7 separate regions of the Homo sapiens genome follow, and all the other regions are linked to region 6. Evidence: promoter capture Hi-C in 16 types of primary human blood cells and fetal thymus (Javierre and others, 2016). All regions are on one chromosome and are shown on one strand. The core of a region is centred on a gene start or on the middle of the fragment in contact, and the rest is flanking DNA. Distances in the headings are between cores, read along the strand shown.

Region 1 (3,124 bases), core at 574-3,073, 1.6 Mb before region 6:
CAGGAGTGAAGCCGTGGACCTTCTCAGCAAGTGTCACAGCTCCTAAAGGTGGTGCGGACCCAAAGAGTGAGCAGCAAGATTTATTGCGAAGAGTGAAAGAACAAAGCTCCCAGAGTGTGTGGAACGGGACCCCAGTGGGTTGCAGCTGCTGGCTCCAGTGGCCAGCTTTTATTCCCTTATTTGGCCCCACCCACATCTTGCTGATTGGTCCATTTTACAGAGTGCTGATTGGTCCGTTTTTACAGAGTGCTGATTGGTGCGTTTACAAACCTTTAGCTAGACAGAAAAGTTCTCCAAGTCCCCACCGGACGGAGAAGCCCCTCTGCTTCTCCTCTCAATATGGCCAGGCAGCAAACTCAGTCTTTCATCTCGAAGGAGTCAGGTTGGGCAATGAGATCAATGTGAAGCTTTGGAAACCTGCATGGTACAAGAGACTGTAAACCTCCGAGTGTCTACTAGCGCCAGGGCTCCCTTTGGATAACAGTTGCCCTAGGTGAGTCTTTGTAAAGTTGCAAAGCCTTAGATAATGTGATACTGCCACTTCCATCATGACTGAAGGAACCCGGTTTTGGTGCCCAAAGCTGAAACAACTGTGGATACTGGTGAGAGAGGTCAATTATCAGAGAGGTACTTTGGTACCAAACTCCTCCCTGAAAGTTCTTTTTAATGTGAGACAGTGACAAAATGCCCCTAGTCAGATGTCCTGGAATTAAATTGCACACAAAAAAGGCAACAGGGATTAATGACATTAACCATTCTTATGAAACAATAAAATAACTAGGGCACTTAGGGAGCTATTGTATTTTGATTAGCAATGAGCTATTGATTCAGTTCTCCCTGATGCCTGCTGTAGGTACCCACCGGCCTCGGAAGCCTCAGGACCCAGCCTAACTCCATAGTGCTAAAATAGATTTTGGTGGTTTCTCACTTCTTGGTAATTCTCATAAATCCCCACCATTTCATATAGCTTGGGCAGGTCTCTTCCTTTCACCCTGAAAGACTACAGGTTATGTAAGCACCATTTTACAGGAGAAGTCAGAAGGCCAAAGTCGGAGGGGCAGGTTAGCGTCAGAAACCAGCACAGACAAAATTCATCCAACAATGACTTAAGTCACTTCTCTGTGCCTCATTTTTGTAACCTACAAAATCAGGATAATCATAGTTTTCCCAGACCAAAATGAGAGTCAGGCTGCTATTTCTTGTGGCCCAATGATGAGATGCAGATGAACTGCGGAGGAAGAGAGTTTTTATTTCTCCAACCAGTTACAGGGAGAAGGCCTGGAAATTATCATCAGACCAACTCAAAATTACAAAGTTTTTCAGAGCTTATATACTTTCTAAGTCTATGTGTAAGTGTGCATTCATCAAAAGACATGGGTGATTAACTTCTTTTAATCTATAACTAAGGTCTCAGTCCTAAAGAGCTTCCTCTGGAGCCTCAGTAAATTTACTTAATTAAAATGAGTTCAGATGCTGGGGTGATTACCCTTATCTTGCCTCCTTGTATGATTGTCTCCAAATCACGGAGGTTTGGGGAGTTCCTTCAGACCCCCAATAAACTTGTTTGTAGAGGCCTAGGGACTTTCTACAGACCCACAATAAAACTTGTTTAATCCTACATGGGTCCTGTTAATAATTCCTTCCCAGGAAACAGCCTAGGCAAAATTCTTGGTGGGCTTTTGTTACACCTCAGCCTTTGTATAAGGGCACTGGCTTTTAATATTTAACTTAACCACTCAGTACTGAAACAGTTGTTATGGAGGCCTGCGTTGGTGAGACCTGGCATGCCACAACAGTACCTTCTGTATAGCATTGTTACGAGGATTAAATAAATTAATATATATAATGTCTTTAGAGGCAGGGACAAAGTAAACATTATGTAAGGATCTATTAAAAATAAAACAGGAGTTGGCTTTTTTATTGACTTGTATTGGCCCATTTCCCCCTTTAGAGGAGTCTGAGGTACTGTGTTGTTTCAGACACACATCATAGCTAAAGTTAGCTGATTGCCGACTATACACCTAGACTAGAAAATTGTTCAATTGACCCTATAGTTAGGCTTTCTCAATTTGGTTTATTTAACAGTGATACTCAGGACTGCCAACACATACATTCTGGATTTGGTGAACCTGGACAAAAAACAAGTTGTGCCTCCACTGAATCTTTGCTTCTTAAGATTACCTGTAGGGAGATAAATATCATTCCGGGCTGGTATAGTTTCTAATAAAGACAGCAATCATCAGTTACAGAACATATCTCAAAGTGAAGAAACAACTACAGTTATGTACCACATGACATTTCAATCAACAACATACTGCACATATGATGGTGGTCCCATAAGATTAAAATATCACATTTTTACCGCACTTTTTCTATGTTTAGACATTCAAATACTTACCATTGTGATATAATTGCCTACAGTATTCAGTACAGTAACCTGCTTTATAGGTTTATAACATAAGAGCAATAGGCTATACCATATAGCCTAGGTGTATAGTAGGCTATACCATATAGCCTAGGTGTATAGTAGGCTATTCCATCTAGGTTTGTGTAAGTACACTCCGTGATGTTCACATACACACACAAAAAAATGCATAAAAACACATTTCTCAGAATATATTCCCATCATTAAGTGACACATGACTGTATTAGCAAAATTAATTGCAGTGTGTTTATTGTGTTTTATTACTATAGACTAGTTTTGTGTTTGATAATACATCCTCTTTGATTCTTTTTATAAGCCATGTGGTTTCTGATTCTAAATTATTTCTTCTAATTAATGTATACACAATTTATTTGATACAATTTTTGTTTGATCAGAAAGAAAAAGGAAAAAGTCCATTGAGACATGACTATACTTTATCCACTATGCTATTCACTGTTACTTACATTTTTGTCATTTCATATTCATTGCAAGTTTAGAAAGTTAGCATTATCATTCCCATTTTTAGAGATGAGAAAAGAGAGATAATGAGAGCAAGGGTTAAAAGCAAGCAAGCAAGAGGGAAAGAGAAAAAGATAAATTAGAATTTTTTTACTTCTCTTATAATATTGCATCAAGATCATATTAAATTTGAAAACTTTTTTTTACACATTTTCATAAATTATGAAGTTTAAATTAAAG
Region 2 (3,502 bases), core at 905-3,404, 1.7 Mb before region 6:
TGGGTAAGCACAAGAGAGACTCCAGTTTCACTGTTCTTATAAGGACTCATTATTTTATCTCCAATCTTCCAATGATGGTTGCTGGATAGGGAGAGAAAACAGTTGCCAGTGAAGAAAGGCAGTGATTAATTTCTCCAGTTCACATATAAATACACACAATTTGCACTGTGAGAAAACTGGAAGAACAAAGAATGTTTCTGGTGTAATGGGCATGTGTCTTAGTCATGGTAATTAAGACTTAGTATTACAAAGCCATTTGTCATTTAAAAGGCTCATTCTTGATCATTTTATTTGCTAATGTATTCTCATTATGAGACATGGAGGATGGAATGCTGCCTTAACTCAGCAGTTATCTTTGGTTATTGATTTTTTTCTGTAAAAATCAGAAAGACTTTCTTTTAGCTTGATTCAATTAAGACACCAAATAATATGGTTTTGAATTGCTTCAAAGGAAAAAAGCAGATGTAAAATCAGTGAATCATGTGAGCCATTGATATCAATTAGCTAAACCATGCCGAGGTGATCCCTGTTAGCAGTTAAGTTCTTCCTTTCCCCAGGACTACAATGCTCTGCAGAAAGGTGCCCTTAGGTTTAAAAGTGACACTGGTTGACATACTCAGAAAGCCTTCTGTTCAAATTCTACCTCTTGAAGAGCCTTTCCAATTGTGAGATCATTTGGACAATTTTGGACCATGCAGGATTCAAACATGAATGTCATATTAAGCTCAAGAATATATTTATGATTCCATACTTTCACCTACCTTGGAGTGATTTCTGTTGCACTCACTGAAATATCAGAGTAAGCTCAATATCAGATATTGATATAATATCAATACATAATATCAATATCAAGCTAAATATCAAAGTTAACTAACCACCATTAATCACCCAAAGCATAGATCAAATGCAAACCCATTATAGAAAAAAGAGAATGAGGAACAGTGTGTGTCCTTTTGGTCAGGAGTGTGCTAACACAGGAATAGATAGGATCCTAAAATGCAACAATCAATGGCAAGTGGTCTTTTTAATTTAGTGGGCAACCAGAGGTGACATGATTTGATGCCTTTCTGTCAGATGAAAAGAGCAAGAGTTTCTCTATGTTTTTTCATTTAAAAAATATTATGTCATAGATTTGAGGCTTACCTGTATTCAGCAAGAAGTAGAGGAGAAATTCCATGTGTATGTTAAAAATATAGCTGCAAAATTCTGCAATAAATATCTCTTCTATCATCCTTTTCAGGTCAAATATTATGATCCTTTGTGACAGCAAGATTTCAGGAAAGAGAATAAAATGTCAGAGAATGTAAATCTTTTATGATGACTGTGATGGTTAATTTTATGTGTCAACTTCAGTGGGCCATAGGATGCCTGGATATTTAGTTAAACACTATTCTGGGTGTATCTGTGAAGGTGTTTGCATGAGATTAATCGGTAGACTGAGTATAGCAGAGTATACTCCCTAATGAGGGAAGACCTTATCCCATCAACTGAAGGCCTGCATAGAAGAAAAGGCTGACCCGCCCCCAATAAGAGAGCATTCTTTCTGCCTGACTGCCTTAAACTGGGATGTAAGCTTTTTCCTGCTTTCAGAGTTGAACTGAAAAATCAGCTCTTCCTGGGTGTCTAGCCTGCCAGCCTTAACACTGAAATTGTATCATTAGCTCTCCTAGGTCTCCAGCTTCCTGAGTCACCCTGCAGACCTTGGGACTTAGCCTCCATAATTTCATGAGCTGCTCCTCATAATAAATTCCTTACATATATGCACACACATCCTATTGGTTCTGTTCTCTGAAGAACCCTGACTAATACAATGCTTGAGGGGATTTTTCTCAAGCATGAATAACTTTTGTTTCTCTTTCCTTCTTTTCTTCCTTTCTCCAAGCAGAATACAGATATTTACAGTTATCCCAAATACATTCATTGAATAGGTGACTGGATTTCTGATGACTACTTTATTTTTTATTACATTTCTGTATGCACTTGGGCATATCTGGGTTTTCTGTTCTAGCTCGTTAACCTGCCTACTCTCATGCCCATACCAATCTCTCTCCTTTTTAGTAATTTTTTAAAATTATAGTACCACTCTCTTTTAATTATTGGGATTTCATGAGTTTTAACATATGGTGTGTCCCCTACCCTTAACCTTTATTGCTATTTTTTGTCAGCTTTCTACTGGATGTTCTTTTGGAAAAAAAAATTCATTTTTAAATTGAGGTAAAATTTATGTATAGTGAATTACATAGCTCTTAAATGTAGTTCAATGAGTCTTGCCAATTTTCCATGCCCATTTCTACATACAATGTTGTATTTTGTTTTATTTGTTCTGTTTTGAGAAGTGATGTATTTATGATGTTAAATATTCCTATACAAGTATAAGGTACATTGTTTTCCATGCGATCAAGTGTTTTTTCTGTGTTATTGTATGGAAGGTCACCAGCTGAGCATCCGTACTGTGTGAGGACACAAAATAAACTCTATTAAGTTAAGCACCTTAAGTTTGGAGGTTGTTTGTTACAGCAGTTAGCCCATACCAACCAATACAACTAGATTTAACACCAGGCTTGGTTTGTACTTTGCTGTTTTATCATGGTTGTGTTATATTTGTTGACAAGTTCCTGGTATAGTGAGTGCTCTTAATATTCAAATGTACAATTTGTTAGTGTAAGTGAATTACTACAAAGCGCCACTAGGTGTCCTCTAGCAATAATTTTCCCTGGCCTGCTGAAAGACTGACTGAAGCTTTATTTTTTCCCTTGGCTGTACTGCTGAATTGGTCCCCAGGACTCCACCCTCCTGCCATCACTGCTAACATACCAGAAAAATGAGAACCTTTTGTTGTTTTTAAGAACGTAGTTAAGTATATCATTCTTCTTAAGAACAAAAGTGTAGACTTTATCATGTTATAAAGAACCCACTATCAGAGACACATTTGTGATTTTTCTGAAAGTTGCTCAAGAACAGATTTGGAAGAGACAATTTATACTGTATACCTCTCCCATTTCTCTCCTATCTATTCTTTAGCATTCTAACACAGCAGAAAAATGGTCAAACAACATCAAGGCCAGCCAGTCCTGGAGGAGAGCAGTAATTGCGATAATTATTATGTTGGTGCAAAAGTAATCGCGGTTTCTGCCATTAAAAGTAATGGCACCAACCTAATACAAAGAGGTGGCATCTTAGAAAAGGCAGTGGGCAGGCCGGGCATGGTGGCTCATGCCTGTAATCCCAGCACTTTGGGAGGCCAAGGAGGGCGGATCACCTGAGGTCGGGAGTTCAAGACCAGCCCGACCAACATGGTGAAACCCCATCTCTACTAAAAATACAAAATTAGCCGGCTGTGGTGGCGCATGCCTGTAATCCCAGCTACTCGGGAGGCTGAGGCAGGAGAATCGCTTGAACCCGGGAGGTGGAGGTTGTGGTGAGCCGAGATCAGGCCATTGCACTCCAGCCTGGGTGACAAGAGCGAAACTCTGTCTCAACAAAAAACAAAGCAAAACAAAAC
Region 3 (3,056 bases), core at 377-2,876, 1.6 Mb before region 6:
TGTAACAGAAATTCCCTCTAGCTAGCTTCATTCATGTAATAAATAATTAGGCCCATTCTGTGACCAGACACTGTGCCAGCTTTTCCACATTTGGTGTTGAACAAAGCAGATGTGTTCCCTATTTTTTTGGAACCTACAGACATTTACAAAATAAACATGTAGGAATACATTGTGGGAAGTAGCGTGGAGAAGAACAGAATGCTGTAAGAAAAAAATCAGGGGCACTGACTCCGTTTTGGTGTTCTGAGAAGGCTTGCTCTTTGACAAAGAAAGATTTCAATTGCTATTGGAAAGAAGCATAGGGGTTAACTTGACTAAAAAAAAAATCAACAAAGAGAAAAAGCAATCTGGGCACAGGAAATTGCAAATGGGAAGGTCTTAAGAGAAAACGCTTGCAGCATTCAGGGGACAGAGAGAAGGCAGGCCTTGTGACTGCACTTAGGTGAGGGCGCTGCTGAGAGGCAGGACACCAGTTGGAGAGGGGAGCAGGTGGCTGGTCATGCCCAAATTCACAGGTGTTGATAAAGATCTTGAATTTAATTTGAGTGGGTTGCCATTGAAGACTTTTAAGCCAGAGACTGTTCTAATTTCTATTTTGAGGAACTCTTTATGTAGACAATAAGGAGAGTGAACTGGAGGGATAAAGGATTGGAGGTAGGAAGACCAGGGAGGACAGAGCGCAGGTGAGAGTACTGTCAGGGAGGAGGGAGAGAAGTGCACAGACTTGAGGTGTGTTTTGAGAGTTGGATTGACATGTCTTGGTGATAGATTGGATATGGGAGGTGGGAGAGGCAGAAAGAAGAGTGGGAATGAATTCATTTAATAGATACTGCTAAATGCTTATAATCCAAAACAGTAGGCTCAGATGCATATGATTTAGAGATGCCGTAAGAAGAACTGAAAAATAAAACAAAAACTGATCGCCCTGGTTATTACCTCTGGAAAAGTATACTGGCTGCTGGGATGGGGTGAGAGAAAGGAGGGAGGAGATTTTTGCTTTTCATACTATCCTCTCTACTGTTTGAATGATTTTTAAAATCATGCTTGCATTTTATAATTTTTTAAAAAGTTATCAGCATGACAGATATAGCTCCTGTCTTTCTGACTTGAGCACATAGATGGAATATGGTGTAATTTCCTAAAATGAGAAAAATTAGGGAAGAAAGATCTGATCCTCTCCGAAATAATTATTCCAAAACATAATTTACTCCCCTGCTTAAAACCCTGTCATTCCTCTGCCTTGTCTATAGCAGTTTTTCCTAAACTGCAGTCTATGAATTATTATTTTCTTGGGATATTAACAGTTAAGTAAAGGAAGAAAAGCTTCCCTGATGATATGACTTTGAGAAACTCTTGATTTAACCTACTTAACCAGTTGTGGTTTTGTTTTTGTTTTTTTTTTTGTTTTGTTTTGTTTTGTTTTGTTTTTTGAGACAGAGTCTCTCTCTCTTGCCCAGGCTGGAGTGCAGTGGTGTGATCTCAGCTCACTGCAAGCTCCGCCTCCCAGGTTCATGCCATCCTCCTGCCTCAGCCTCCTGAGTAGCTGGGACTATAGGCGCCCACCACCACGCCTGGCTAATTTTTGTATTTTTAGTAGAGACGGGGTTTCACCGTGTTAGCCAGGATGGTCTCGATCTCCTGACCTTGTGATCCGCCTGCCTCAAAGTGCTGGGATTACAGGCGTGAGCCACCGCACTGGGCCCCTACTTAACCAGTTTTATTGCAGGAATCCTCAGAGCATGCATGTCCTAATGCATGTTAATAATCAAGAAAAGAGAGATCTTTTATGCTACATTTCCTAAACTTGACGTTGAAATGCTTTTCCAGCAGAACATCTAAGAGAGCCAGCATTCAGCATAACACGCTTTGGGAAATGCTGTCCTATATTAATAGATTAAACCTTTTAACATCTACAGTTCTCTATTAACCATAAGCTTCTCTCATCTCTTTAATCCTACTTAGTTGGTGGAAAGCGGGAGACTGGAATTGACTCTGTTAATAGGCATTAAGTTGATGATGAAAACAACCCTGCTCTGTGGATGATATTCAGAAACAGGATCTGCAGTCTGATTAAAAGCAAAATTGTTTTTCATTTCTACTTCTTTGGCAAGGTTCTGCAGGACCTCATCAAGATACATTTTGTGAAGTCTCTGTTTCATACATGTGACCTGAGGCATAAACAATGGGGAAGACTCCCCAGGGCCTCTTAGGTCCCGTGGTAGGCCTGGGCCTTATCTGATCTTTGTAAGCCATCCCCTGCAGGGCAATACAGTGTGACTACATAGGGCATCTGTAGGAACATTGGTTTTTGAGTCTCATATATCCACTTCCTGGATCCCCATGCATTTGCATGGTGGTAGGCTGGAAGCAGAAATGCAACTTATGGCCAAAGAACAGTGCAGCAGAGCATAATGGAAGAAACAGGTTCACACAGCTGTAGAATTCTTCCTTGGCTTCATCAGCTCTGTGTTCCAGCCCAGGGGTCAGCAGCTTTGGCCCAAGGCTGAAATCTGGCCCCTGCCTTTTTGTTTATTCTTTGAACTAAGAATGGTTCTTATATTTTTAAAACTTAGAAAAAATCAAAAGAATAATATTCTGTGACATGGGAAAAATTATAGGAAATTTAACGTATATGAAATTTAACCTTCAGTGTCTATAAATAAAGTTTTATCAGAAAACAGCTTGTATCATTCGTCTAGTCATCCCTATTGGCTATGACTGCTTTAGTGCCCTAACCAATCAATTATTATGACCTTTAAATCCTAATATATTTACCTTGTGGTCCTTTACAGAAAATGTTTGTTGACCCCTGCTCTAAGGCTATGAAACTCACCTGCCATAGGTAATCTTAATTGTTTTGTTTTTCATTTATTTAATTTATGAGGGGATAGAAATAAAATAGTTAAATTGACTTCCTAGTAGGTCCTCAAACATTATTGGCATTCAGGCACAGAAAGAGAAATACTGCATCATCTCATTTTTAGGTGGAATCTAAACATATTGAACTCATAAATAAAAGTAGAGAGAAGAATGGTGGTTACTAGAGGTTGAAGGCA
Region 4 (3,254 bases), core at 104-2,603, 2.0 Mb after region 6:
ACTAGTTTTCCCATTTCTAATGTGGACACTAGAGGCCCTGATGATTTTATAAACAACTATATAACATTAGTGACATCGGTGCTCCATACCTGATAGAAAAGCAGCTACAATTCCTTTTTTTTTTTTTTTTTTTTGAGACAGAGTTTCACTCACTACTCATGCTGTCTCCCAGGCTGGAGTGCAGTGGCGTGATCTCAGCTCACTGCAACCTCCATCTCCTGGGTTCAAGTGATTCTCGCAGCTCAGCCTCTTGAGTAGCTGGGGTTACAGGTGCCTGCAACCACATCTGGCTAATTTTTATATTTTCAGTAGAGACGGGGTTTCGCCCTGTTGGCCAGGCTGGTCTCAAACTCCTGGCCTCAAGCGATTTGCCCACCTTGGCCTCCCGAAGTGCTGGGATTACAGGTGTGAGCCACCATGCCCAGCCTCACAATTCCTTACACTACCTCTTTTTCATTGTTCCTCATCACTACAAAAAGGAGAGCAGGAAGGGTAAGATAGGAAAGCAGCATTTCTTTCTCTTCTGAAGTATAATTTTAAAAAGAGATTAACCCTGAAAATCATGGTTTTCTATGGTAATCAAGCTTTGTACATCAGAAAATAAAACATCCCATTATTAAACAAATATTTATTAACCGGCCCATAAAAATAATGAAGTTACTCACACTGAGTCCTAGTCCATTCTGTTTTTCTGATTTGCATAAGCAAAGGTCTAAGTTCTGGAGCCAACCCTTCAGAGGTCTTGAGAATGAATGATGGGTAAGTTTATTTGGACAACCAGAAGGACTTTTCATCACAACTGAAGCCATTTTATAATGTAGAAATTTCTTTTTCCTATTTTAAGTAAGGAAAGTCCATTCTTGAGAATATGTTGTCCAACAATTAAAACACTCTCAGGATTTGTTACTTGTTGGTGATTTATGCTGACTCCGCCTTCTGTTATCATTCGATACCTAAAAAATAGAAACGTTTAGTAAGTAGAGAGATCCAATCACTGTTGATCTGTCCCCCAAAAAAGACTGTTTCACTTAGATTTCAGAGGCTCTCCAATTGAGAAGATTTCATTTGGCACTGGACTGTTACCTTCATGTTTGCTCTATTATTAATAGATTCTGCCTCTCTTTACTGCTCTTTGTTTTTTGTTGTTTGTTTTTGAAACACATTCTTGCTCTGTAGCCCAGGCTGGCATGATCTCAGCTCACTGCAACCTCCGCCTCCTGTGTTCTAAGTGATTCTCCTGCCTCAGCCTCCAGAGTAGCTGCGATTACAGGTGCATGCCACCACACCTGGCTAATTTTGTATTTTTAGTAGAGATGGGTTTCGCCATGTTAGCCAGGCTGGTCTCAAACTCCCAACCTCAAGTGATCCACCTGCCTTGGCCTCCCAAAGTGCTGGGATTACAGGTGTGAACCACTGTGTCTGGCCGGAATTTACGCCTTGCAATCTGCTCTTTTAAAGACTCCGTCTCAAGAAAAAAAAAGAAAGACCTAGGAGAAGTTGTTCTAGGAGCACACTGGGTAGGTGAGGGCTGAACATTTCACTGAAAAAAGAGATACTTAAACTGGGAGTGAAGCTACCTTGACAATCAGGGCAGGAAACATGGGAGCAGCTAGAAAGAGGTGAGATCTGAGAAGACAGGGCTACAGCGTGGCTAGATCTTGGAAGTCCTTAAGAAAGAAAAATGGTGGTTTTCTCTCATCTGAATGTTACCAAATAAAATTAAGAAACCACTACTGGACATGGTTTTAAAGATATTTTTATACCTTTATTTTTGGGTAGAGACGGAGTCTCACTACGTCCTTGCCCACACAGATCTTGAACTCCTGGCCCCAAGCAATCCTCCCGCCCTCAGCCTCCCGAAGTGCTGGGATTACAAATGTGAGCCACCATACCTGGCCATGGACATGGTTTTATAAAACTCATCAGTAAAATATTTTCTACTTAAGGCCAGATTCCTTTCTTTTAGGAAGTATTATTTTACGCTGTCTGCTAGTTTCCAGATCATGTTCTATGTTTAATTTAAATGCACCAAACCTATTTAGCTTATATAATATTAAAAAAAAAAATCAGTATTACTTAGAGCCCTGGCTAAATCAGATGTGGTGTCATTTTTAGTAGTGGTAAAGCTTCCAGTATTAGCGAACACACTATAGTAAAGTTCAGAAGAAAACGAAATCTGCTTCCATAGTGAGGAAAATTATTTGTCTCGCTGACATACTACAGGGAAGTATATGACACCAGCCTCAAATTCACTGTGTGTTAAACCAGCAGATGAGGGAATCACTAAGGTGGAGTGGCAGGTGATGCAAAGGGAGACAATGGGTGCTTTTTCCAGGCAGAATAGTCTAGGACTCTTTAGGACACAGGCAAACAATCCAAGACAGTTGAAAGAGAACAACTATAACAAATGTCATTCATAATCATGGCCATGATATGGCCGATAACCATTTGACTTCTGTGTGAACTCCTGCAAAAGAGGCACCTGGGGGTCTTCTGGCTACCCAACACTTTTCCTTCCACCTCACTGTTCATTTAAAAATGGATAAGCATCAATTATATGCTGAATTATTTTTTGTGAAAAACCTTATTTACTCCTTAATACCTCATAACTGATTAATTAAAATATTCTACTCAATTCCTGAATAGAAAATGCAATTCTCAAGGGGATTATTATATAGTTTACAATAATAGTCTTATGACGTTAGTAGGTTAGTGCAAAAGTACTTGCGGTTTTGGCCATTATATGCTCATTTCATTTTCAGAAATTCAGTTAATACTATAGATAGGTTAGGTAACCTTTCCCATCCCCGAATATAAAAAGGATACAGACTATGAGAGGGGCTGTGTTAATCTGTTACATAGGGCCTCTGTTTCTGCATCCCTCTAAAACTGTGACCATATCCCTAAGCCGTACACTGATGCCAGTGTATTTACTGAACATGTCCCTCAAATGCACTTTTCCAGTGTTGGAGGAAAGACTGACTGGGTTAGATATAATAAGAGACAGTATAGGAGTACTGTACTATTATAGAAAATATAAAGTATTTTCAACAATAAGTACTCTCAGGCTATACTTTATTCTTGGACTAAACTAACTTTTCTAAGGAAGAGATGCCACTAAAGCACTATCAGGAAAACATCCTCTCTGGAAACACATGCTGTGAACTGTAACATTTTATTTATTTTTTGAGACAGAGTCTTGCTCTGTCACCCAGGCTGGAGTGCAGTGGTGGGATCTCCGCTCACTGCAAGCT
Region 5 (3,045 bases), core at 191-2,690, 1.9 Mb after region 6:
AGATGCGACATTGCTGGCTTTGAAGAGGTTGGAAGGAGGTAACCAGCAAGGAATGCAGGGGGCCCCTAACAAAGGCAAGGAGGTGAATTCCCTGCTAGAGGCTTTAGGAGGGTTTGCAGCCCTGGTGACACCTTGATTTTAGTCCAGTGAGACCTGTGTGAGACTACTGAACTATAGAACTGTAAAACAATACTTTTTTTTTTTTTTTGACATGGAGTCTCACTGTGTTGCCCAGGCTGGAGTGCAGTGGCGTGATCTTGGCTCACTGCAAGCTCTGCCTCCCAGGTTCACGCCATTCTCCTGCCTCGGCCTCCCGGGTAGCTGGGACTACAGGTACCCGCCACCACGCCCGGTTAATTTTTTGTATTTTTACTAGAGACAGGGCTTCACCATGTTAGCCAGGATGGTCTCAATCTCCTGAACTCGTGATCCGCCCGCCTCGGCCTCCCAAAGTGCTGGGATTACAGAAGTGAGCCATTGCGCCTGGCCACATTTTTGTTGTTTTAAGCCACTAAAATTGTGGTAATTTGTTAAGGCAGCAATAGGGAACTAATATACTAGAGAAGCAAGGCAGAAACCAGGTTCCTAGGTTTCAGTTCCTCCCCAGTTCTCTCTGCCTCATCTGCTGTGAGACAGCTTGCTGAATGAGATCCCCTACACCCTCCCCCACAGCACACTCACCTCATTCCACAGGAGTAAACTGCGTGAGAGAATGAAATAGACGATGTAGTGATAAGATGTAGAGCTCTGATTCTGCCTGAGCTCCTAGTTCCAGTCATTTTTTTTTTTGAGGTGGAGTGTCACTGTGTCACCCAGGCTGGAATGCGGTGACGTGATTTTGGCTCACTGAAACTTCCGCCTCCCGGGTTCAAGCAATTCTCCTGCCTCAGCCTCCCGAGTGGCTGGGATTACAGGCTCTCACCACCACCCCCAGCTAATTTTTGTGTTTTTAGTAGAGACGAGGTTTCACCATGTTGGCCAGGCTGGTCTTGAACTCCTGACCCCAACTGATCCACCCATCTCGGCCTCCCAAAGTGCTTGGATTACAGGCTAGAGCCACTGCGCCCAGACATTCAGTCATTTTTGAGGCAAGTTAGCTCAGAATTAAATTTCTGTCCTTACAATTAGCTATCCTGCCTAAATCATAAAGCTATGGTGAGAGAGGGATGGTTGCAGGAGAAGAGGTGTTTTTTGTTGTTGTTGTTTTTTTTTTTTGAGATAGAGTCTCACTCTGTTGCCCAGGCTGTAGTGCAGTGGCGCGATCTTGGCTTGCTGCAACCTCTGCCTCCCAGGTTCAAACAATTCTCCTGCCTCAGCCTCCCCAGTAGCTAGGACTACAGGCGCGTGCCAGCACGCCTGGCTAATTTTTTGTATTTTTAGTAGAGACGGGGTTTCACCGTGTTAGCCAGGATGGTCTCCATCTCCTGACCTCGTGATCCACCCACTTCGGCCTCCCAAAGTGCTGGGATTACAGGTGTGAGGCACCGCACCTGGCCGAGAAGAGGTTTTTTTAAAGGCCTTTTGATATCCGATAATGGTTTAATGTGATTCCCACAGGAAGCCACTGAAGAACACATTATTCTTAGATGCACAAAGACTCTTTTTTGTGGGAAATCCATTTAGCCACTTATTAGTTAAATTGATTTCCCACAAACAAGAGTGTTCTGAACTTAAAACATGAAAGCCGAAATTGGTTTTTTTTCTTCTTTTTTTTTTTTTTTAGTTGGAGTTTTGCTCTTGCCGCCCAGGCTGGAGTGCAGTGGCGCGATCTCGGCTCACTGCAACCTCTGCCTCCCGGGTTCAAGCGATTCTCCTGCCTCAGCCTCCCGAGTAGCTGGGATTACAGGCACGCGCCACACCAGGCTAATTTTTTTTTTGTATTCTTAGTAGAGATGGGGTTTCACCATGTTTGTCAGGCTGGTCTTGAACTCCTGACCTCAGGTGACCCGCCCACCTCGGCCTTCCAAAGTGCTGGGATTACAGGCGTGAGCCACCGGGCCTGGCTCTTTTTTTTTTTTTTTTTTTTTGAGACGGAGTTTTGCTCCTGTTGCCAAGGCTGGAATGCAATGGTGCAATCTCGGCTCACCGCAACCTCTGCCTCCCGGGTTCAAGCAATTCTCCTGCCTCAGCCTCCCGAGTAGCTGGGATTACAGGCGTGCACCATCACGCCCAGCTAATTTTTGTATTTTTAGTAGAGATGGGGTTTCTCCATGTTGGTCAGGCTGGTCTTGAACTCCCGACATCAGGTGATATGCCCACCTTGGCCTCCTGAAGTACTGGGATTACAGGCATGAGCCACCGTGCCCGGCCTTCTGTTTTCTTTAGAAGAAAACAAAAGCTCCATCAACAGAGGGGTGAGAAGCAAAGTGGGTAATATCTGACTATTATGTAATATTATCTTTGGTAGAAAGTCAAGAGACTTGGAATAAAACTGTTTTTTGGAGTTCTGAAATTTTTGTCTTATTTTATCTCTGAAAAATTTTTTTTTTGAAAATAATCAAAGAGGAGATGTTCACAAAACCTGTCAAGATGCCAAAACACCACTAATGGATCTTTAGGTCTTGGCTTACTTCATCCATTTGTTCACAGATATTTATTAAGCACCTGCCATTTGTCCTGCTGAACAAATCAAGCATGTTCCCCGCAGCCATTGTGTACAGCTAAGCAGGTGAATGGCACCCACTGGAGTTGCGTAGTGCACAACTTCCACTACTGCTGGTGGTTCTTGTCCTCATGGAGATTAAATTTAGTAACTTCTAGGAAGTCTTTCTCGAATCTCTATCCTCTTGCTCAGACTGGAAAAAGTGCTCTTATTATGTTTTCTTTTCTCTTTTCTCTTTTTTTTTTTTTGACACAGGGCCTCACTCTGTCACTTAGGCTGGAGTGCGGTGGCACGATCACAGTTCACTGCAGTCCCCACCTCCCAAGCTTAGGTGATCCTCCTACTGCAGCCTCCCAAGTAGTTGGGGCCACAGGTATGCACCACCACGACAGGCAAGCTAATTTTTTTGTATTTTTTGTAGAGACTGGGTTTTGCCGTGTTGC
Region 6 (3,499 bases), core at 816-3,315:
AATCTTAAATCTTCACCTAACACCACAAAAGTAAGTGGTAAAACATTTTCTAGTTCTACTACGGTTAAACCTTCCAACGACTGCAGCAGTTATACTGCAATATCAACTGCTGCAGAAAGTCACAAGGAAAACAAGCTAAAAAATCAGCTATTAACACATCTATGAAAAGAAACATTAATACTACATAAGGAATTAATCTCACCTAAAATAGCTAGCTCTTAAAGTATTTCAACAGCAGCATGCATAATGTAACTATGAAGAATATTTTTATTCCGTTGTTTTGACAAATGAAACAGAAAATGTTTAATATTTCCAACACGTAACCTGCTTGTTTAAAGCAGCTAAACCTAAGGTTAGTTAAATTTTTAGTAGAGAACACCTATGAGCTCTGAAAGAAAAATGTCAGCTCCTTAATCTTTAAGATCATGCATCTACAGGACTGGAAGAAAAAAAGTTACCTTCTTTTTCTCGATGTTTCTAATTTTGTGTTTAAGGCATATGAGTCCATTTTCAATATAGGTCTCATACGCTTGGGAAGGAGATGCAGCAGAACTCAGAGTAGACTGCAGGGGGCTCAAGGCCCGCTGGCTTTCCCCATGCTGACTGTGGTTCACTTGGGGCTTGGCTGACTTCATATTCCCCTCTCTTTCCTCCTCTGAATGGCCTGAAGGTGACTGGTAACCAAAAGGGGATGAAAAGAGTTGCACCATTGAAACAGATGAGGCTGAAGGAGGTGGGGGAAAGTTAAGTATAAAATTAGGACTAGAGGGACACAGCCAGGCAATAACTTCCCTGGAAAGTCTAGACCACTCCCTTAAACTCTTTTCCACAGAAGTGAGCTCGAAACCCAATGATGCTTGAGATACTTGTACTTCCATCCTACTTTTAAAGTAATTAGTGCCGCTAGCCAATAAGGATAGCCTTTACATAGGCAAAATCTCCCAATACGGAGGATGTTTCCAGAAATTCGATTTTCCACATAGGGAGGAAGAACTGCAACGGCTTCAGAGCTCCTTTCTTCTCATGAGGGCAGATCACATTCTAAATAATTCCCATGGCCACGTGATGACACCAAAAGAATAAGCTTTCCACACCGGGACCTAAGGCTGAGCCACTCAAACCTCTTTACATGATCCCTCACCACCAGCCCTAACCTCAATCCTGAACGTTTGGAAGAAAATCCAAACTCACAACATTCTTTTATAGCTCTAAGTGAACCAGCAGCTTCTTGAACAAGAATGCTAACTTCCCCGATTGCTCTGGGGCCTACAAGGCAATCCATCACTACTGGACATTTGCAGACAGGTACTCTCTCAACCTGCAGGAACCCCGCGTTTATTCTCAGTTGTTTGGTTTAGACTAGCCCAAAACCGCTTACACCCAACCAGTTTAAGAGCTCATTCTAGCGAGCCCTTCCCGTGCCCTAATCAGTGGCCCTTGCGCACTTACGTATCCGTCTCTCGACCTCCAAGCACCCGAGGTATCCCTTTCTCCCCCCTTAGGAGCATCCCCAAACCAAGGACAGAACAGGCCCCATGCACGCCAGCGCGCACCCCCTCAAGTCTCCGGGGGAGCCTGAGCGAAGAGCACCTCTCCCGAGCGGCCACGGAGAGCCCTGCAGGCACCGACCCCCACCCTTCCCACAGCCGCCCCGGGTACGCAGAAGCCGCTTCTGCAAGGCCCCGGGGGAGGCTGACCTGCGGAAAACGCACCGACCGCGGCCCTCGGGAGCCCCGCCCCGCCCCGGGGATGCCAAGCCGCCCCTCCACCTCGCAGCGGCGCCGGCCGCCCAGACCTGCCCACCCTCGCCGGGTCAGCCGCCTCCCTCCGCCGCGCCGACCGAGGCCGCCGCAGCCCGACTTCACCTCCCCAGGCAGCCGAGGCCGCCGCTGCCGCAGCCCGGGCCCGCCTTCCAAAGCCTGGGGGAGGCAGGAGCGCTGCGGAGGTGGACCGGCGCCACCCCGCACTCGCGTCTCCTCCTCCTGTCTCCTCCCTCTCCCCTCCCGGTCCTCGCCCGCGGCCTCTGCGGCGCCAGAGACCCAGCCGACTCAGCCGCTCGCGCCCAGGCCCGCCCACCGCGCCGCGCGTGGCTTTTGTAGGCCGCGCCCCGCCCCGGCCCGCTCCGCCCTCGGCCGCCCCGCCACCGCCTCCTTCCGGTGCTCCTTCCCGGCTGCAGCTGGCCGCCAGCGCTTGTCGGGTGTTAGTTCCGGGCCCAGCTTGGGCTGGTGGTAGGTCGGGAGAGGGCGCGGTCTCCCAGCCTTTGCGCAGATTGCGGGGCACCAGGTGGGGCCGAGGCGACGCCGAACGCCGGCAGGCCGGAAACCGCGCAGCCCCGCTGGACCTCGCTGATTGCCGGCGGCACCGGTGGTTTCGCGACCTTGAACAGGTGACTCCAATAGCTCCAGGAGGGCAGCGAGCCCTTCGCGGAACTACCAGATAAGCCATGCTTGAGGCTGTCGTAGCCTAGTGGGTAGTCGTGAAATGCAGATGCGCCTTTGCCCCTCAGATAGCATCTTTCATAGTAGGATGGGGAAAAAACACCGTTTCCTTACCGGGGAATCAGCCTGTAAGAGCAGAATGCCCCAAATCAGCATCGCCATAAAAACGGAGTAGGTGACTTCGCAACCTGCAATAATAGGATTGAGTTTATTCAAGCCGTATTATTTGTTCATGTGACACACATTAATTGACTGGCACGCAGAGAAAGCTGTAAAAAATCTTTGTAAGGTTACATAAAATTAAGAGAAAAGTCTGGAAATATGTAAAAGTTTATTGAGGAAAGGAAGGTGTTTCTGATACCAAATAAGAAACACACACACACACTCAGCAATACTTTGCCCCAACATGTGTTTACTTATTACACCAAGTGGAGTTTTTTAGGTCCTGATTGTCCCTGACGCTCTGATAAAAAATATTGAGACTAGCAAAAGAACAGAAAATTCAGAAGAAGAATCAAGGAAACAAAGGTCTAGTTTTAAAAGCCTTGGTCAACTTCACACAAATTAATTTTAACATTACTTAATACATTTTTTTGGCATCTATTATCCGTGTTCTTTTCGGTCCCTGGTGACATAATGTACCCTAATGTTGCATTTTAACTTTGAATCTCTGAATCCCATATGTGTTCTTCAGGGTCAGAGAAATACTAGATTTTCCCTTTTTCTCATTGTTTATAAACAGAGAAACGCAGAAGATGCTGAACATGAGGAGAGGAAGGCTATGCCTTCACCTTTGGTAACACAAAAAACAGTGGCCATAAGAAAAAATGTGAAGGACACACTGTTGGATCAATGAGTTGACACAAAGTTACAGCACAGCCTGAGTTGTAGTCCGAGCTAATGATGAACCTAAAAATGGTATTTCAGTCAGATTAATCATGAAATGTTTGCCCCCTGCCGGCGCAGTGGCTCAAGCCTGTGATCCCAGCACTTTGGGAGGCCGAGGCGGGGTGGATCACCTGAGGTCGGGAGTTCGAGGCCAGGCTGGCCAGCGTGGTGAA
Region 7 (3,397 bases), core at 396-2,895, 1.7 Mb before region 6:
AATAGTTAATAGCCTACCAACTAAAAAAAGTCCAGAACCAGAAATATTCACAGCCAAATTCTACCAGAGTTACAAAGAGGAGCTGGTACCATTCCTTCTGAAACTCTTCCAATCAATAGAAAAAGAGGAAATCCTCCCTAACTCATTTTATCAGGCCAGCATCATCCTGATACCAAAGCCTGGCAGAGACACAACAAAAAAAGAGAATTTTAGACCAATATCCCTGATGAACATCGATGCAAAAATCCTCAATAAAATACTGGCAAATCGAATCCAGCAGCACATCAAAACGCTTATCCACCATGATCAAGTCAGCTTCATCCCTGGGATGCAAGGCTGGTTTAACTTATGCAAATCAATAAACATAATCCATCACATAAACAGAACCAATGACAAAAACCACATGATTATCTCAATAGATGCAGAAAAGGCCTTTGACGAAATTCTACAGCCCTTCATTCTAAAAACTCTCAATAAACTAGGTATTGGTGGAATGTATCTCAAAATAATAAGAGTTATTTACGACAAACCCACAGCCAATATCATACTGAATGGGCAAAAACTGCAAGCATTCCCTTTGAAAACTGGCACAAGACTGGGAGGCCCACTCTCACCACTCCTATTCAACATAGTGTGGAAGTTCTGGCCAGGGCAATCAGGCAAGAGAAAGAAACAAAGGGTATTCAATCAGGAAAAGAGGAAGTCAAACTGTCCCTGTTTGCAGATGACATGACTGTATATTTAGAAAACCCCATCATCTCAGCCCCAAATCTCCTTGAGCTGATAAGCAACTTCAGCAAAGTCTCAGGATAAAAAATCAATGTGCAAAAATCACAAGTATACCTATATACCAATGACAGACAAATGGAGAGCCAAATCATGAGTAAACACCCATTCATAATTGCTACAAAGAGAATAAAATACCTAGGAATCCAACTTACAAGGGATGTGAATGATCTCTTTAAAGAGAACTACAAACCACTGCTCAAAGAGGATGCAAACAAATGGAAGGACATTCCATGCTCACGGTTAGGAAGAATCAATATCGTGAAAATGGCCACACTGCCCAAGGTAATTTATACATTCAATGCCATCCCCATCAAGCTGCCAATGACTTTCTTCACAGAATTGGAAAAAACTACTTTAAAGTTCATATGGAACCAAAAAAGAGCCCACATTGCCAAGGCAATCCTAAGCCAAAAGAGCAAAGCTGGAGACATCATGCTACCTGACTTCAAACTATACCACAAGGCTACAGTAAACAAAACAGCATCGTACTGGTACCAAAACAGAGAGATAAACCAATGGAACAGAACACAGGTCTCAGAAATAACACCACACGTCTACAACCATCTGATCTTTGACAAACCTGACAAAAACAAGAAATGCGGAAAGGATTCCCTATTTAATAAATGGTGCTGGGAAAACTGGCTAGCTATATGTAGAAAGCTGAAATTGGATCCCTTCCTTACACCTTATACAAAAATTAATTCAAGATGGATTAAAGACTTAAATGTTTGACCTAAAACCATAAAAACCCTAGAAGAAAGCCTAGGCAATACCATTCAGGACATAGGCATGGGCAAGGACTTCATGACTAAAACACCAAAAGCAATGGCAACAAAAGCCAAAATAGACAAATGGGATCTAATAAAACTAAAGAGCTTCTGCACAGCAAAAGAAACGACCATCATAGTGAACAGGCAACCTATAGAATGGGAGAAAATTTTTGCAATCTACCCATCTGACAAAGGGCTAATATCCAGAATCTACAAAGAACTTAAACTAATTTACAAGAAAAAAAAAACAACCCTATCAAAAAGTGGGCAAAGGATATGAACAGACACTTCTCAAAAGAAGACATTTATGCATCCAACAGACACATGAAAAAATGCTCATCATCACTGGTCATCAGAGAAATACAAATCAAAACCACAATGAGATACCATCTCACTCCAGTTAGAATGGCCATCATTAAAAAATGAGGAATCAACAGATGCTAGAGAGGATGTGGAGAAAGAGGAACACTTTTACACTGTTGGTGGGAATGTAAACTAGTTCAACCATTGTGGAAGACAGCGTGGTGATTCTTCAAGGATCTAGAACTAGAAATACCATTTGACCCAGCGATCCCATTACTGGGTATATATATACCCAAAGGATTATAAATTATGCTACTATAAAGACACATGCACATGTATGTTTATTGCAGCACTATTCACAATAGCAAAAACTTGGAACCAACATATATGTCCATCAATGATAGACTGGATTAAGAAAATGTGGCATATATACACCATGGAATACTAGTCAGCCATAAAAAAGGATAAGTTCATGTCCTTTGCAGGGACATGGATGAAGCTGGAAACCATCACTCCGAGCAAACTATCACAAGGACAGAAAACCAAACACCACATGTTCTCACTCATAGGTGGGAACCGAACAATTTGAACACTTGGACACAGGGCAGGGAACATCACACCTGGGGGCCTGTCATGGAGTTGGGGACAGGAGGAGGGATTGCATTAGGAGAAGTACCTAATGTAAATGATGAGTTAATGGGTGCAGCAAAGCAACATGGCACATGTATACCTATGTAACGAACCTGCACGTTGTGCACATGTACCTTAGAACTTAAAGTATAATTTTAAAAAATTTAATAAAATAATACCTTGAAACAACAACAACAACAAAAAAAAATCCTGTATTATTGAGAGTATGAGAAAAAGGACCCTCTCCATATACTATCGGTGAGATCATTAAAATGTTTCACTTTTTGGGAATTAAATTAAATTTTAATTGTAATTTATTAAATTACATATTTAAAATATGTAAACTCTTTAATCCAGAAATTATACTTCTAAGTATCTTACAGAATTACATACCCATGCAAAAATATATAAAAGGATTTTTATTACTATATAATTTGTGATCAGGAAAAGTTGGAAAATAACCACCCTGAGGTCATGTATCAGAAAACTGAGGGCAGTCTACAATCAGGAATCAGCTGACGCTATTCCAACTAGCTAGTGCTCCACCTGCTTAGCCGCCTTACCCTGCCTCATCCATTCCTTCCCTCGAAAACCACAGTTCCCCTGTCCTCTGCCTGTGACCAACCTCGGTGTTCTCTCCCGCAGCTGTGCAGTGTGACCCCTCCTCTTGGGCACGAGCAGAAATAAACTTTTAAATAGCAATTGTCCGCCAATCTGTGGCTTCATCATACCTGAATAAAAATAGAATCTACATTTTTAAAAAAATCCAGGAAACATTATTAAAAATCTATCAGCACTAACAAGACAATACAATAAGATGGCAGATACAAGATAACTATGTAAATATCAACAGCTCCCAGCACTTTGGAAGGCCGAGGTGGGCGGATCACGAGGTTAGGAGATCG

The links. The method cuts DNA at HindIII sites, captures the fragments that hold promoters and counts their contacts. A CHiCAGO score of 5 or more calls a contact.
Region 1: a fragment that was not itself captured here is called in contact with the fragment with the promoter of CAPRIN2 in region 6 in 1 of 17 cell types (neutrophils); the score reaches 5.3 in neutrophils.
Region 2: a fragment that was not itself captured here is called in contact with the fragment with the promoter of CAPRIN2 in region 6 in 8 of 17 cell types (monocytes, total CD4 T cells, activated CD4 T cells and 5 more); the score reaches 10.9 in monocytes.
Region 3: a contact is called between a fragment that was not itself captured here and the fragment with the promoter of CAPRIN2 in region 6, in 1 of 17 cell types (erythroblasts). The highest score is 8.6, in erythroblasts.
Region 4: a contact is called between a fragment that was not itself captured here and the fragment with the promoter of CAPRIN2 in region 6, in 6 of 17 cell types (activated CD4 T cells, naive CD8 T cells, total CD4 T cells and 3 more). The highest score is 9.0, in activated CD4 T cells.
Region 5: a fragment that was not itself captured here is called in contact with the fragment with the promoter of CAPRIN2 in region 6 in 3 of 17 cell types (non-activated CD4 T cells, naive B cells and total B cells); the score reaches 9.0 in non-activated CD4 T cells.
Region 7: a fragment that was not itself captured here is called in contact with the fragment with the promoter of CAPRIN2 in region 6 in 2 of 17 cell types (non-activated CD4 T cells and total CD4 T cells); the score reaches 6.9 in non-activated CD4 T cells.

Annotation. Positions count from the first base shown.
Region 1 is chr12:29,114,922-29,118,045 of GRCh38, forward strand. No RefSeq gene overlaps it. Among named protein-coding and RNA genes, the nearest start is that of FAR2, 33 kb to the right of the region's middle. The HindIII fragment of the contact is 2,836 bases long and covers 406-3,124 here.
Region 2 is chr12:29,071,136-29,074,637 of GRCh38, forward strand. No RefSeq gene overlaps it. Among named protein-coding and RNA genes, the nearest start is that of FAR2, 76 kb to the right of the region's middle. The HindIII fragment of the contact is 1,166 bases long and covers 1,572-2,737 here.
Region 3 is chr12:29,153,023-29,156,078 of GRCh38, forward strand. The region is part of intron 1 of FAR2 (fatty acyl-CoA reductase 2); the gene reads left to right. Among named protein-coding and RNA genes, the nearest start is that of FAR2, 5.3 kb to the left of the region's middle. The HindIII fragment of the contact is 611 bases long and covers 1,322-1,932 here.
Region 4 is chr12:32,746,411-32,749,664 of GRCh38, forward strand. YARS2 (tyrosyl-tRNA synthetase 2) reads right to left here. Exons shown (of 5, transcript NM_001040436.3): 5 at 134-953. The coding sequence ends at 794. Among named protein-coding and RNA genes, the nearest start is that of YARS2, 7.9 kb to the right of the region's middle. The HindIII fragment of the contact is 1,542 bases long and covers 583-2,124 here.
Region 5 is chr12:32,674,342-32,677,386 of GRCh38, forward strand. No RefSeq gene overlaps it. Among named protein-coding and RNA genes, the nearest start is that of DNM1L, 3.4 kb to the right of the region's middle. RefSeq lists an enhancer at 1-1,052. The HindIII fragment of the contact is 2,972 bases long and covers 1-2,926 here.
Region 6 is chr12:30,752,886-30,756,384 of GRCh38, forward strand. It overlaps CAPRIN2 (caprin family member 2), which reads right to left and starts at 2,066. Exons shown (of 19, transcript NM_001385503.1): 1 at 1,866-2,066; 2 at 459-674. The coding sequence starts at 635. It overlaps LOC645485 (a long non-coding RNA gene), which reads left to right and starts at 2,189. Exons shown (of 2, transcript NR_135046.1): 1 at 2,189-2,386. RefSeq lists enhancers at 1,440-1,519, 1,523-1,692 and silencers at 1,620-2,299, 3,391-3,499. The HindIII fragment of the contact is 2,894 bases long and covers 1,083-3,499 here.
Region 7 is chr12:29,095,664-29,099,060 of GRCh38, forward strand. No RefSeq gene overlaps it. Among named protein-coding and RNA genes, the nearest start is that of FAR2, 52 kb to the right of the region's middle. The HindIII fragment of the contact is 8,335 bases long and covers 1-3,397 here.